Linked DNA regions of Homo sapiens: all the other regions are linked to region 1. Evidence: promoter capture Hi-C in 16 types of primary human blood cells and fetal thymus (Javierre and others, 2016). All regions are on one chromosome and are shown on one strand. Each heading gives the region's core, a stretch centred on a gene start or on the middle of the fragment in contact. The rest is flanking DNA. Distances are from core to core; before and after follow the strand shown. Region 1 holds the start of METTL14 (methyltransferase 14, N6-adenosine-methyltransferase non-catalytic subunit). Region 2 has its middle 14 kb from the start of SEC24D. Region 3 holds the start of SYNPO2 (synaptopodin 2).

Region 1 (4,556 bases), core at 463-2,962:
ATGGACAATAGCTTTCCCATGTTCCACCTTTTGATTTCCTGCCTGTGCCTCCTGTGGGCAGAGTCTTACAGGAAGCCATCTAACAAGGAAGGCTGGGAAATGTAGTTTGTGGACTCCCTGCCTAGCCATCATCTCGAAGCAGAGGGTAGGTGAGTATGGGGTTCAAAGATTACAAGCAAGTAACCTGCATAGCAACTTATCAGGAAAAAGAAAAATCCTCCATTAGACAGTAAACTCATAAAGAAAAACCGACTTTAGTTTTTAATCTTTGACAGACTTTATAGACTCTAGGGCCTATCACAGTGCTTGCCATATAAAATGCTCAATCAATATCAACAGATATTTAAGTGAATAATTGCCTATTCTCACCATTGGTAAAATTTAAATCAGTATTCAACTTAAATGATTGCCAGATAATACAACTGATTTTTAAAGAAATACACTTTAACTCATATGGACATAAATATTTTACAGTATCCAAGTAGTGCTGACATTACTCAAGGAATTGTTTAGGACTACTTGTTCAAAATTGTCTTTCAGACCTAGTTCTTCGGAAATACATTATAATTATTTCTATAAAAGTGGGCATGACTAAGTAGAATCTAGTCTTGCCCACTTTTGGCCCAGCCTGACTCAACTGGTTTTGATCTGGATGACTTAATATTATTTCTGAAAATTAAATCTACTCTGAAAGAACAGACTTATTACTAATTTTGTTAAGTACTTACCGCGATTTCCAATTAAACTTGAGGCAACATGATGTCTTACTCCACTTCCGCCACTGTAGGCTTGAAATAAGATGGCAAGTGTGGTGAATAATAATGGTAATAACTCAAATAAGACTTTGGCCTTTGCTGCCATCCTATGAAGACAGAATCACCACCCCCCAGCCCTCACCCCTCACCCCCGCAATCCGAGTAATTTCAGGAAGCTATTTGTTTCCTTATCCTTGGGTTATTTTCAGTTAAGACAAATGTACAAGCACAAAAAGGAGTCTCTTAGCTTCTGACTCCTAGGACATAAACCAAGACACGCTTTACTATCACATACTCATTTCCCTAAAGGGAAGAAGCCAAAAAATGCATACTATAGTAAAATGGGAAACATTTCAAGGGACAGTAAGGTGTGGGGAAGAGTGGGCAGATGTTGTGGCTGTTACCTGCGTGAAGGTAAATAAAATATTAACAATAACAAGCACTTCTACACCGCTATGTGCAAGGTGCTATTTATCCTTTCAATCACAGCTCTGTGAGGTAGACACTTATGACTCCCATTTTACAGATGACAAAACTGAGGCTCACGAAGGTGGTTAACTAGCCAAGGCCACTCGTCTAGGAAGTGAGAGGCCAAGGTTCAATCCTAGGCAATCTGGCTTAAGTTTGTGTTCTGTTAAAAAAAAAAAAATTAAAGGTTATCTGGCAATTTTTTAAACGTCAGGACTGTCATCTGTGGAATCAATTGAAAAGGGAATCAACACTTCAGAAACTGTAATACACCAAGGGAACCTGCTATCCTGGGAAAGAGAGATAAAGGAGAAGTCAGCTGACTGTCCTCCTTCAGACTAGCTCAGACCACCCCAACCTGCGAGGGCCCTGGAGACCCCTGTGGCGCAACAGATCCCTTACTGGGTCCCTTCCAAGTGGCGTCACATAGCAAGCGTCCAGAAGGAGGCGGGACTTCCGGGCCAAGCGAGCCAATTCCGGCCGCGCCGGAAGTCTCTACTGAGGAAAGCTATGAGGATACTCTGTTCGTAAGCTCCCGGTGAATTTTGTTCCACAGACTCGGAAGAAAGGTTGGATAAGAGTTCACTGGAGATTGACAAGTACTCGGGATAGTGAAAAGCCGGAGTTGGAACATGGATAGCCGCTTGCAGGAGATCCGGGAGCGGCAGAAGTTACGGCGACAGCTCCTCGCGCAGCAGGTCCGCGGCCCTGGTGTCCCCTGTGGGAGGGATCGAGAATGCGAGTGCGCGGCCGCCTCCTCCCTCCACACCCCGCCTTTTTCTGTCCCTTCTCTACCTGCCGCTGTTAAGGCCTTTCTGGTCCTGCGATCTTGATCCCTGGTTCTGCCTTTGTAGTTCTCAATTTTCGCGGTGTCCCGAATGTTTTTCCAGTTCCTTCCGCGGTCTTTGTGGTGCTAAACCGAATGCCAGGATTAGCCTTTAAGCTTTGTGGAACTCCCACCGAGTGTCTGGCATGTTCACGCCAGGATGAGTGTCATGTTATCCCCTACATTTCTCTTCACTATTAAATGGTCATCTATTTCTTTCTTTTCTTCGTCGTCAGCCCCAAATTCTTGAGATTGTGGTTTCATTATGAAATACGTTTACAGTATTTTCTTTGACATCTTTCTGAAGACAACACTGGAAGTAGCCTGAGTGTAAATTTTAGATTCTGCATCTTATATAGAGTATCCTTGTCACATCCACAGTTAATATTTGAAATCTTACTCTGTGTTAGTCACAATAATCTCCTGAAACAGGTATTATTACCTTCACTTATCAAGTAATGAAAAAGGCTCCATACGTTAAGGAATTTTACTCCTGGTCGCTCACTTCTCTGCTGGGAAATAGAACCTAGGTTTGTCTCCCCAAAGCTTGTCTTCTAAACCATTGTCCTTCACTTCTTTCTTGTGTATGAGTAAGTTAACATTTGCTGATTAGTAGAGTGCACATGCAGAAAATACAGATTGTGCACAGTTCTACTTAAAATCGAGGCTGTATTTTCCATTCTACTATTCAGATCAGTAAAAGTGATAGGAGCAATGCTCATAGAGTGTAATTAGTCATCTTGCAGTTATTTTTCAGTAATGAAACTTGGTTTTAGTAAATGGACTTCTGAAACCTATCCTCTTTATGGTCTGATGAACAGATTTGTGGAATATGGCTAAAACCGTGGAAACTTGGAGTCAGATTTGTTCCTTTGTTCCTTATCCCGCTGGCATTACGATCTTGGGCAAATCAAGTATCCTTTCTAAGTCTTCTTTTCGCCAACTTCTTTTATCGTATTATCTTCAAAAATGTTAAGTAGCTCTTTGTTGCTACCACAGAAGACGTTTTACTCCTTAATATTGAATTCAAACTTCTATTTGACTCAATATACATTCATAGGACAATTATTTGTTTAGTGTTTTACACTCAGCAGATGCCAGGGGCTCTACCTTTTAAAGTCTTTTATGAATTGGTTGCACTCTACTTAGCCAGCCTTATAACCATTATTTGTTTACATTTGTTTGTATTTTGCAAAATTTTCCAAACTGCCAAACAAAATTTATGTTACCATTTTAAGGTAGTAAAGTTCAGCCTTGTGTCTATAAATAGTAAGACTTAGCTTGAGTAAAACTGGATCGATTTTTATTAGAGCATAGAATAAATAAGTTATATAAGCTGATGCCTACAAAATGTTTAACATGGTACCCACAACCCTGTGCAAACACTGTCTTATCTGCCTTTTTTAGTTATTGCTATTGCAGGTTGAATATCTCTTATCTGAAATGCTTGGGCCAGAAGTGTTTTGGATTTCAGATTTTTTTCAGGATTTGGAATATTTGCATATTACTTACTGGTTGAGCATGCCAAATACCAAAACTCAAAATCGGAATGCTTCAGTGACCATTTCCTTTGAATGTCATGTCAGTACTCAAAAAGTTCCAGATTTTGGAGCGTTTTGGATTTTGGATTTTCAGATTTGGAATGCTCATTTTATATTAAATCGTGTGTATTGCTTCACAGGAAATTGGCTAAAGTGTCTTATTTTCAAATACAGATGGTTCCAGACTTACTATCATTTGACTTAACAATTGACTTTATGATGGTTTGAGAGTGATAGGCATCCAGGCTGCTCATTGACTTACGGTGGAGTTGTGTTCTGATAAACCCATCATAAGTGGAAAATATTGTAACTTGAAAACACACTTACAACGTTTATTTTGAAACAGATTTACTTTCAACTTACAATGGGTTTATCAGGACATAACCTCATCATAAATCAAGGAGCCGCTGTATAACTGAAAGCATAAAATGTTTTGCCAGCTGTCAAACTCATCTTAATTAATGCGGTTTTTTTCCAGAGTTTTTCCAGTTTGTCTTGCAAGCTGATTAATTCATTGTTTTGTGTGTGTGTGTGTGTGTGTGAATTAAGGTGTTTTTGTTTTTTAAGTATTTAATGTATTAAATGCTGCTACAAATGCCCAGAAAGGCTATCCAGTGCATTGCAATCTAATTTCTGATTTTGTCTTTTCTCAGTTGGGAGCTGAAAGTGCCGACAGCATTGGTGCCGTGTTAAATAGCAAAGATGAGCAGAGAGAAATTGCTGAAACAAGAGAAACTTGCAGGTCAGTCAGATAATTCTTTTTTTTTTTTTTTTTGAGACAGGGTTTCACTCTGTTGCTTAGGCTGGATAGGCTGGAGTACAGTAGCATGATTATGGCTCACTGCAGCCTTGACTCCTGGGCTCAAGTGGTACACCTGCCTTGGCCTCCCAAAGTGCTGAGATTACAGATATGAGCCACTGTGCCGAGGCAGGTGGATCACTTGAGCCCAGGAAGTCGGGAGTTCG
Region 2 (4,774 bases), core at 1,724-4,223, 160 kb after region 1:
TTTCCTCTACTCTCCCTACCATACTTTCAAATCATTTGTTACTCCCACTAAACTGACCATACAGCTTACAATAAAACAATATTTTAAACAGAAAAATAAGTGGAAAAATTCTAGTTTATCAGAGATCTCATCACTTCTACATAAAACTTTGCTTCAATAAGTTTGTTTTTTTGTTTGTTTTTTGAGACAGGTTTCACTCTATTACCCAGGCTGGAGTGCAGTGGGGAGATCATGGCTCACTGTAGCTTCAAACTCCCAGGCTCAAGCTGTCCTCTTACCTCAGTCTCCCAAGCAGATGGGACCACAGGTGCCCACCACCTTGCCTGGCTAATTTTTTTTTTTTTTTTTTTTTTGTGGAGATGGGGGTCTCACTATGTTGCCCAGGCTGGTCTCAAACTCCTGGGCTCAAATAATCCTCCTGCCTCAGTCTCCCAAAATGCTGGAATTACAGGCATGAACCACCACATCCAGCCTTCAGCAAGTCTTAATATTTTTTATTCTTAATATTAAGGACCCTAACTTTTATATTCCTATATAGTCTCCACAGATGTTGACTAATTTCTCAGATGATTTTCACATCTCTTTCTTTCTTCTGTAATTTCTGTCTTGTTTTCTTATTTCTTGTCTTCCTCTACTAGTCCTTTTAAAAAAATCAGCTCCCTGCTTTCATGAATATAGTGCTTACAAGTTACTGAAAAGCATCATGACCATAACAAGCTTACTAGAAATCCAATGTCACTGAATCCTCCCAGTAGCAAATAAATGATGCCTCCCCTGCCTTTGTGATTATTGTTTCTGCTCTTAGGATGAATGGATAGACATGGAGTCTTTATATATAGAAGTATCATTCATCATTTCTAAAAGTAAGATAATATCCTATTGATAAAATCTATAAAAACTATGAATATTCTGCATCTCCTCAGTAATTTATATACATCTCTGTCCAAATTTGTCTTTTTTTTTTTTTTTGAGACAGGGTCTTGCTGTGTTGCCCAGGCTGGAGTACAGTGGCATGAACACGGCTTACTGCAGCCTCTACCACCTGGGCTCAAGCAGTCCTCACACCTCAGCCTCCCAAGTAGCTGGGACCACAGGTGCGCAACACCACGCCCAGCTAATTTTTAAAAATTTTCTGTAGAGCTGGGGTCTCGCCATGTTACCCAGGCTTGTCTCAAACTCCTGGGCTCAAGTGATCTCCCACCACTGTCTCCCGGAGTGTTGGGATTACAGGCGTGAACCACTGTACGTGGCCCAAATTTGCCTTGAACAAGTTATCTCTGGCTCTGTGTTTAGGCAACACCTATTGATGTGATCTCTAGGCACCTTACTAAGAATATTGTGCCAGCATTCTGCCTTTAAGACCAGGAAAACAGAGCACAATGAGGATTTAAGTATGAGAACAACCTCCTTGCTTATATCACTTATTATAAATCTTTTATTTGACAAAATTCTTCTTATAGATTATTTTTAGTACTAGAATTAGAAAACCTAATGAAGTTTAGATCACTACGAGTTCATATGCAATGTCATGTGTAGATAAATTAATTGAAGGTGCTTTATAAACTAAGAATATCCCATTTTTTCTAAAACACCCTTTTCATAAAACACACTTCCAAGTTTCTATACTTTTCACTGAAAACTGCAAGGGCTCACTGATTATGGGGATTTGAGCCAATCATGAAGTAAGTCTCTGGCAGGCTTATCTGTAACTAACACTGATATCACTTGAATTCAGGGGATGGCAAATAGGGCCATGATGTTGGTCTTAAGAATTTTAATCCTTTTTCAAAAGAACTGTGAATGACCAGCTATGTTAAAATAAAAGACTAGAAAGTTGGCTCTGGGGAAAGAAACCTCACAAAACAACATCCCTGTTAAAGAAATGTCAAATCTCTTAAAAAAAAAAAAACAACTAAATTTGCATAATATTCAAGGAATTCTAGCAATATTAAATAATTTGTGAAACAAGTTTTTAAAGGGCATAATACATGCTTTGTATACTGGACTTGTGTTTTATAAACCCTAACTCTTTGTTTGCCAGGTTATATGTTGGAATGTAAGAAGAAATACCAAATTTGGTACTTTCTGTGAGACATTTGGGTTTTCTTTGCTCTTTATTTAACATAATGTGAGTCTACATAAAATGCCTCATACCGTAGTATTTTGTGCTTGGAAGGAGAATTCATCTTCTCTGGGTGTAGAGAGGAGAAGTGGATTAAAATAGTATTAGAAATAGATTTCAAATGCAAATACAGGCACTCCTTGACTTAAGATGGGGCTATGTCATGATAAATCCATTGTAAGTTGAAAATATCATAAGTCAAAAATGCATTTAAGACAACTAATCTATCAAACATAGCTTAGCCTAATTTACCTTAAATGTGCTCAGAACACTTGTATTAGCCTAAAGTTGGGCAAAATCATCTAGCAGCACAGTACACTGTATATTACAGGGTGTTTAACCTCAAGATCATTTGGCTAACTGGGAGCTGCAACTTACTGCCACTGCCCAACATCCTGCAAGAGAGTAGCATTACACTGTGTATCGCACTCTGGGAAAAAATCAAAATTCAAAATTCAAAGTATGATTTTTATTAACTGTATCACTTTTGTGGAATCTTCCTAAATTGAGGACATTTTGTAATCATTTTCAAGATGTTTGTATTAAAATAAGTTAAATATACTGTTTAACCCAAAGTGAAGAGATGGGTTCTTAGAGAAAACATCTTGAGAACAATCCGGAAAGTGATTGTTATTCTTTGTTGGTAGAGCAGGAAAGGGCATTCCTGGAAGAGAAAGCACCTAAACAAGAGCATAGAAATGTAAAGCAACCTGGAGATCTAGGGGGAACTGCAAGCTTTTTGATATGGCAGGAGCAAGGAACATGTTTGTCATGGCTGAGGAGGGGCCCCACCAAGCAACAGTATGAAGATGTAATCAAGGGCCAGATAATGAATGGCAGTTTAAGTACCATTGAGGTGTTAGTGATTTATCCTGGAGGGAGGCATCAAAAGGTTTCAAAACAGGAAAACAGCATGATCTGTTGCTTTTGTACTATTGGTTTTGGCAGCAATGTAGAGGATGGAATGGAAGCTTGTGAGACTAGGGCAAAAAGAACTAAGAAAACAGCACGATAATATAGAAAAAAAAACAAGGAACAGTGTTAATAGAGGGCCATCCAATTGAATGTATGAGGTGGAGGAAGGTGAGAATGGAAACTAAGGTGATGTGCTGGGTGGGGAGGGGCCAAGAAAGAGGATACAGGAAGAGAGTGCTTTGCAGGAAAACGTTTGTTTCACTTTCAATTTGTTGCCTTCAAAATATTCAGAACATGTTGCTCTGGAGCTCAGGAGAGAAGGTGAAGTAAAGATCTGAATTCGGCAACTCGGAAGCGAAGCTCCAATCTTGAGGATGGATCAGATTGGTGAGGGAGACTGTCATATAGAGTGAGAAGAGAGATCCAAGGACAGAACTGCAGGAAGCATCAATATTTGAGGAATGAGAAAGGAAGAAAAGCCTCCCACAAAAGAGATGAGACAAGAGGAATGGTTACACAGGTAGGAAGAGAAGCAGAGATGAATGGTGTCCTCTTTATATTTCAATCACCTGAACTCATTACTCATTATTGCCTGCGAATATCAGGTGCTTCACTGTTTCTCAGCTTTTACTCATACCTTTCATCTTTTCAAAAGGAGTTTTAAAATCCTACTCACTTTTCAGAGTCTTAGTGGAATACCAGGTCTTTCGTCAGAACTTTCCTGACTGTTATCACGATCTTTCTTCCTCACATTGTCCTAGTAACCCCAGCATCATGAAATTGAATACAATTACATTATTTAAGACAGTCTTTCAACAACTTTTTGGTCTCAGGAACCCTTGACATTCTTAAAAATGATTGAGGATTGACCAGTCTGACCAACACGGAGAAACCCCGTCTCTACTAAAAATACAAAATTAGCCTGGCGTGGTGGTGCATGCCTATAATCCCAGCTACTTGGGAGGCTGAGGCAGGAGAATCGCTTGAACCTGGGAGGCAGAGGTTGCGGTGAGCCGAGATTGCACCATTGCACTCCAGCCTGGGCAACAAGAGCAAAACTCCATCTCAAAAAAAAACAAAAAACAAAAACGAAGATTGAGGATCCCAAAGAGTTTTGTGCTTTTGCTTATATAAGATATAGCTATCGATATTATGGAATAAAACAATTAAAACTCATTGTTACAATATTTATTAACTTATTTAAAATAGCAATAATGTCATTGCATGTCAATGTAAGTAACATTTTGATTAAAAATACTGTATTTTTTAAAACAGAAAAATGTAGTGAGAATAGTGGCATTATTTTACATTTTTTCAAATCTCTTTAATGTCTTGCTTAATAGAACACAGCTGGATTATCATAACCACCTCTATATTCAATCTATTGTGATGTACCATTTTGGTGGAAGTATGGAAAAAAAATCCACTCTCATACAGGGATGTAGTTGGTGGGGGAAAGGGCATATTTTAATAGTCTTTTCAGAAAACTGTGGATATTCTTTGATACCACACCAAAACTCAGCAAGAGTTTTTTTTTTCCCTAGAGGTTAATTGCAATGTGGAATCTGAAACCATAGCAAGAAAGTTTTCTAACTGTTATATTAAAATTCATTGGTCTATCATACAATTTGGTGAATTTGAATGATTTTGCAACATCACACATTTGTCACTTAGAAAATATTGATTTGCCGTATAAAAAAAGCTCAATATCACGGACCATTAGGGAAATGCAAATCA
Region 3 (4,190 bases), core at 659-3,158, 210 kb after region 1:
TGTGTGAAGCTGCTTTCCTTTCCTCGAAGGTGGGCCGAGCAAAGGAGAGTGACGCAAGAGTGGGCTGTGTCCTGGATGCTGCGAGCGCCTCTGCCTCCTTGAGAATGAGCCCATTAGCCGCACAAATTCGCAGCAGGCGGCTGGGGCGGCGGCTGGGGCAGCGGCTGCAGCAGCGGCGGACGCTCTGCATTACCCAGTCTTGCGTCCTCGGCAGGCGCCCGAAGCTGAGTGCGCATCCTCTACCGCACCCAAGCTTCGTCTGTCTCGTCAAGCTCTTCATGCTGCCCAACTAAAAGGAAAACATGGGCACAGGGGATTTTATCTGCATTTCCATGACTGGAGGGGCGCCCTGGGGGTTCAGATTGCAAGGTGGCAAGGAGCAGAAGCAGCCCTTACAAGTTGCAAAGGTAGGACCTGAACGAAGTGTCACGGCTCTGTGCTAGGAAGGAAGGAATGAAAGCAACCTGCTGATGGTGTTTTCAGGTTCTGATGCAGAAGTCTAAGTATTATTTGATTTTGCTGCGGATATTAAGATTTTTCTAGGAAGTGAGTTATTTTCTAAGAAACTTTGGAGAGTAATGGGCCACATCCTATGTAATTAACTTGCAATCGATGAGGGGTGGGTGGGAAGAATGCCATATTTATCAGCTGAGGAAAAGGCCTAGTTAACCATGTTCTTCTGACAACAAGCAAGACACTGGGGAGCGTTTCTTCCAGGCAATTTTAGAATGTTCAGTTGAGTTATTGTTTGATGTCACTTCACTTGGCTCTGGCAGAGGAGAAACGCTCAGTTCAGCATAACGACTTTGCTTGGCTATTTTGGGGACTCATATAGAGTGTTGGTAGTGACATTTATTATGCAGCATTCATGAAAAGGCCAATGTTGGGCAATAATTTTAAAAGTATGATGAAGTGTCATAAAATCTATTTAAAAGAATACCCTTTTAAGGATTTGACAAATAAATGCAAAAATCCAATAAATGCTGTATTCCTTCTTATGTACTCTTTTGGTCAAGATCTCAAAAATAAACTTAGAAGATAATCTAAATATATTATGAGTAACTAAGAGGTAACTTTGTAACACATTAATAACTATTTAAAATGCTTTAAGTTTTTATTGCCATTAGATTGCCTGCATTACTGGTTAGCCCAAGGGGATCTGGTATTCTCTAATTGGCATTCAGCTAAAATAAAACTTAAAATGCACAAAACTAAGCAAACTTTTACCTAACCTTATCATCAAATTGCAAATTATAGTATTGTATTGAAGAACATGCAAGAGCATGGGATTAATTTCCTATTTTATGCTTATATTAAAAATGGGTACAGATCTTTATGAAATACATGGGCCATTGCCTTTGTAGTTATTGTTTGTTTCCCTCTGGCTTTTACTCTTTTTTTTTTGTAGTTATTGTTTCCCTCTGCCTTTTACGTTTTTTTTTTTTTAGTGTCCTTTGCGAAGAAAGAAGTTTCTTTGAAACTCCTTTTTGCTTCCAGGCATCATATGTAAATCCTTTCGTAATGTGATGGTGGAATCCTGCCACCTAGTGAAAATTGCAAACATCAAGAATGAACCATAAAACAGTAGATGAAAAGCAGAGTTTTTATTACTGGAAAGTTCCTCCGAGGTCTGCAGTTCAACCCATGAATTTTAGATGAGGAAAGAGCCCAGAGATGTTAAGTAACTTGCCTTAAGTTTTCAGCTTGGAACTGGCAGAGTGATTAAAGGCTCAGAAAGGTGGTTTTGTTGGGTTCCTTTAGGAGTCAATAGCAGGCAACCTCAGATAAAATATGAATGCCCAATTTAGCATATGTAGAATTCATGACACTGAAGCAGATTTGTCCTGAGTCTAGAATAGCAGTTGGCTGGCTCTAGGTATGAGATTTGGGTTCTAATTCCAGCTCTGATCTAACTTGCAGCCTGGCCTTAGGAAAATCTCTCACCCTTCCTGTCTCATCGGTTTCTCTCTCTCTCTCTCTCTCTCTCTCTCTCTCTCTCTGTGTGTGTGTGTGTGTGTGTGTAGGGAGAGAGAGACAAATATTTTAACTTAGGTGGTAAAGAAGTAAGAAAGAAATTGGACTGTGCAGTCTACGAAGCTCTGTCTTGCCCAAGTATTCTACGATCCTGATAGTGTACAGTTTTAGAATCGCTTGCCTACTAATTGAAATATGGGGACAGAGTGGCTGAGTGCTGTTGTTCTCTGGTGGCTCTTTGGCAGCCAGGCCTCAAGAATAGAGTGGGTAGTGGGTTTCTTCTGAGTTCTGCATGTGACGATTTCAATGTGGGACCTCTTTGCGGCGATTCACTGAAGAGCTGAAGCAGATTGCTAGGAAAGGGTGCTGTGGAGATTCTCTGCTAATGGCATCTCTATTTTCAGGATTCAGTAAGGTTGTTAGGCTATGTCAGAATCCAGTCCTACACTCCCCCTAAATCATCCTTCCTAAAATACCCAGCAATACATTTGTGGTTTTCAAAAGATCATTATTAAGGCATCTAGATGTTTGCTTTGCTTTTGTAGTTTGTGATACTATACTTAGAGCTATAGATTTTAAAATATCATTATAAAAGTATCTGGAAGTTTGCCTTAATTTTTGTGTGTTTGTGTGTGCAAGAGAGAGAGAGAGACAGACTGTAGTCTACAGTCTACCTTTTGTCCATACGTTAAAAAGACTAAAGAGCTATCTATAGAAGATGTAAGTTCTAAATTACTGTGGCAATGCACAATTTTTGTTGGTCTTTTTCTTTTTTTAGTTCAAATGATTATGTTTGATTTCTTATACTAGCATTATTTGTGGGAGAAATCCCTTGGAACAAAGCGCTTATCACTTTCTCTGTTATCAAGGCCATTGCCTCATTAGGATCACTGTATTTTATTTAAAATATTAAGTCAATTCAATTCTATTCATGGTATCTCAATGTGTTCAAGGCAAAGTGAATGTTGCTTGGGCATAAACTTTCTCTTCTTGTAAGGACTGGTGATAGCTTATTAGGGCTGGATGCAAGGAAAGAGACAGAAAGGCTAGAGAGATGGTTGCTGTCAAATCAAATGTTCACAGTTTTGAATAACATGCACAAAATTAATTTGGGAGTTGAAGGAAAACTTAAATTTTCAAAGAAAAGAAAATTTCGGCGAGTGCTTGAACCATGCTCCTTAAAATGGGAATGCTACAAAGCAGTTCTGTAGACAATAACACATTTTGGCTTTTTGTGAAATATCTACATATTTAGGTTTTTCATAATTCTATATAGAGTAAAAATCTAACAGGCAGAAATAGTGCAAAAAAACAGTCTAATGTTATTAAGAACAATAAAAAATTGAATAACTTTATAATTCCCGATAAATATCCTTATATTGACATATTTAGTCACTTCTGAGATATGTTCAAACATGTTTAGTATTTGGTTAGCTGGTTGAACTATACGCAAACCCCAAATTTTAAAGATAAATAACAGGAATATTCATTATCAAAACTTGTCATTGACGGTTAAGCTCAATGGCACGAAAATCTGTTTTGTTTTAAAAAATAAACCAAATTTTTAAAAGCCCAAGTAATCAGTAACATAAGCTTGTTTTTAAAATGTTTGTATATCTTTTAATTTATATTCTAAATATATGTGATGGGAGGCAAACATTTCTAACACTGAGTTATAGCATAACACTCTGCAAAGTATATTTTCAAGAGATTATAAACAGAAACAAATTTATCCAAACAGAAAACCCCACTGTGTGTGCAGATAGCTTTACAAAAAGAATGTGAGCACTTCTTCTTTATGAAACTCTCTCTTTTGGGACATGTACTTATCTGGCCCTGTCTCAGGACATACTTTTGGCAAATCACTTTGAAAAATCCTCATATAAAGGAGTGGGGAGAAATTTTTGTTTTACAAAAAATCTTACCTGCAATTGAAAAATTACTCACATTTTGAAAATAATTAAGAAAAAAATGTTCAGACTGTTTATCCTTTATATGTTTTAATATAGTTAGAAATTTATTTTTTCTTCAAATCTTATGCACCACTATAGTATGTGTTCTACTGAATTTAGTTCAAAGTTTCAAATAATTGTTCATTAAAATTGAGGTGACATTGTATAATCCTTCATTTCATAAGGCCAAAATGAATTTAATAATTCTTATCTATTATTGGATATGTGTTCTTTAAGATTTTGAATAAAAATGTATTATTTACA

Evidence for each region. The method cuts DNA at HindIII sites, captures the fragments that hold promoters and counts their contacts. A CHiCAGO score of 5 or more calls a contact.
Region 2: a fragment that was not itself captured here is called in contact with the fragment with the promoter of METTL14 in region 1 in 3 of 17 cell types (fetal thymus, total CD8 T cells and total B cells); the score reaches 7.5 in fetal thymus.
Region 3: a fragment that was not itself captured here is called in contact with the fragment with the promoter of METTL14 in region 1 in 3 of 17 cell types (endothelial precursors, megakaryocytes and M0 macrophages); the score reaches 5.5 in endothelial precursors.

The regions. Positions count from the first base shown.
Region 1 is chr4:118,683,680-118,688,235 of GRCh38, forward strand. METTL14 (methyltransferase 14, N6-adenosine-methyltransferase non-catalytic subunit) reads left to right here and starts at 1,713. Exons shown (of 11, transcript NM_020961.4): 1 at 1,713-1,921; 2 at 4,244-4,332. The coding sequence starts at 1,856. METTL14-DT (METTL14 divergent transcript) reads right to left here and starts at 1,662. Exons shown (of 7, transcript NR_125930.1): 1 at 1,626-1,662; 2 at 729-788. RefSeq lists enhancers at 1,672-1,931, 2,112-2,251. The HindIII fragment of the contact is 9,570 bases long and covers 1-2,164 here.
Region 2 is chr4:118,847,384-118,852,157 of GRCh38, forward strand. It overlaps a transcript of SYNPO2 not described here. Among named protein-coding and RNA genes, the nearest start is that of SEC24D, 14 kb to the left of the region's middle. RefSeq lists an enhancer at 3,221-3,290. The HindIII fragment of the contact is 236 bases long and covers 2,856-3,091 here.
Region 3 is chr4:118,888,735-118,892,924 of GRCh38, forward strand. SYNPO2 (synaptopodin 2) reads left to right here and starts at 120. Exons shown (of 5, transcript NM_133477.3): 1 at 120-407. The coding sequence starts at 303. The HindIII fragment of the contact is 3,314 bases long and covers 252-3,565 here.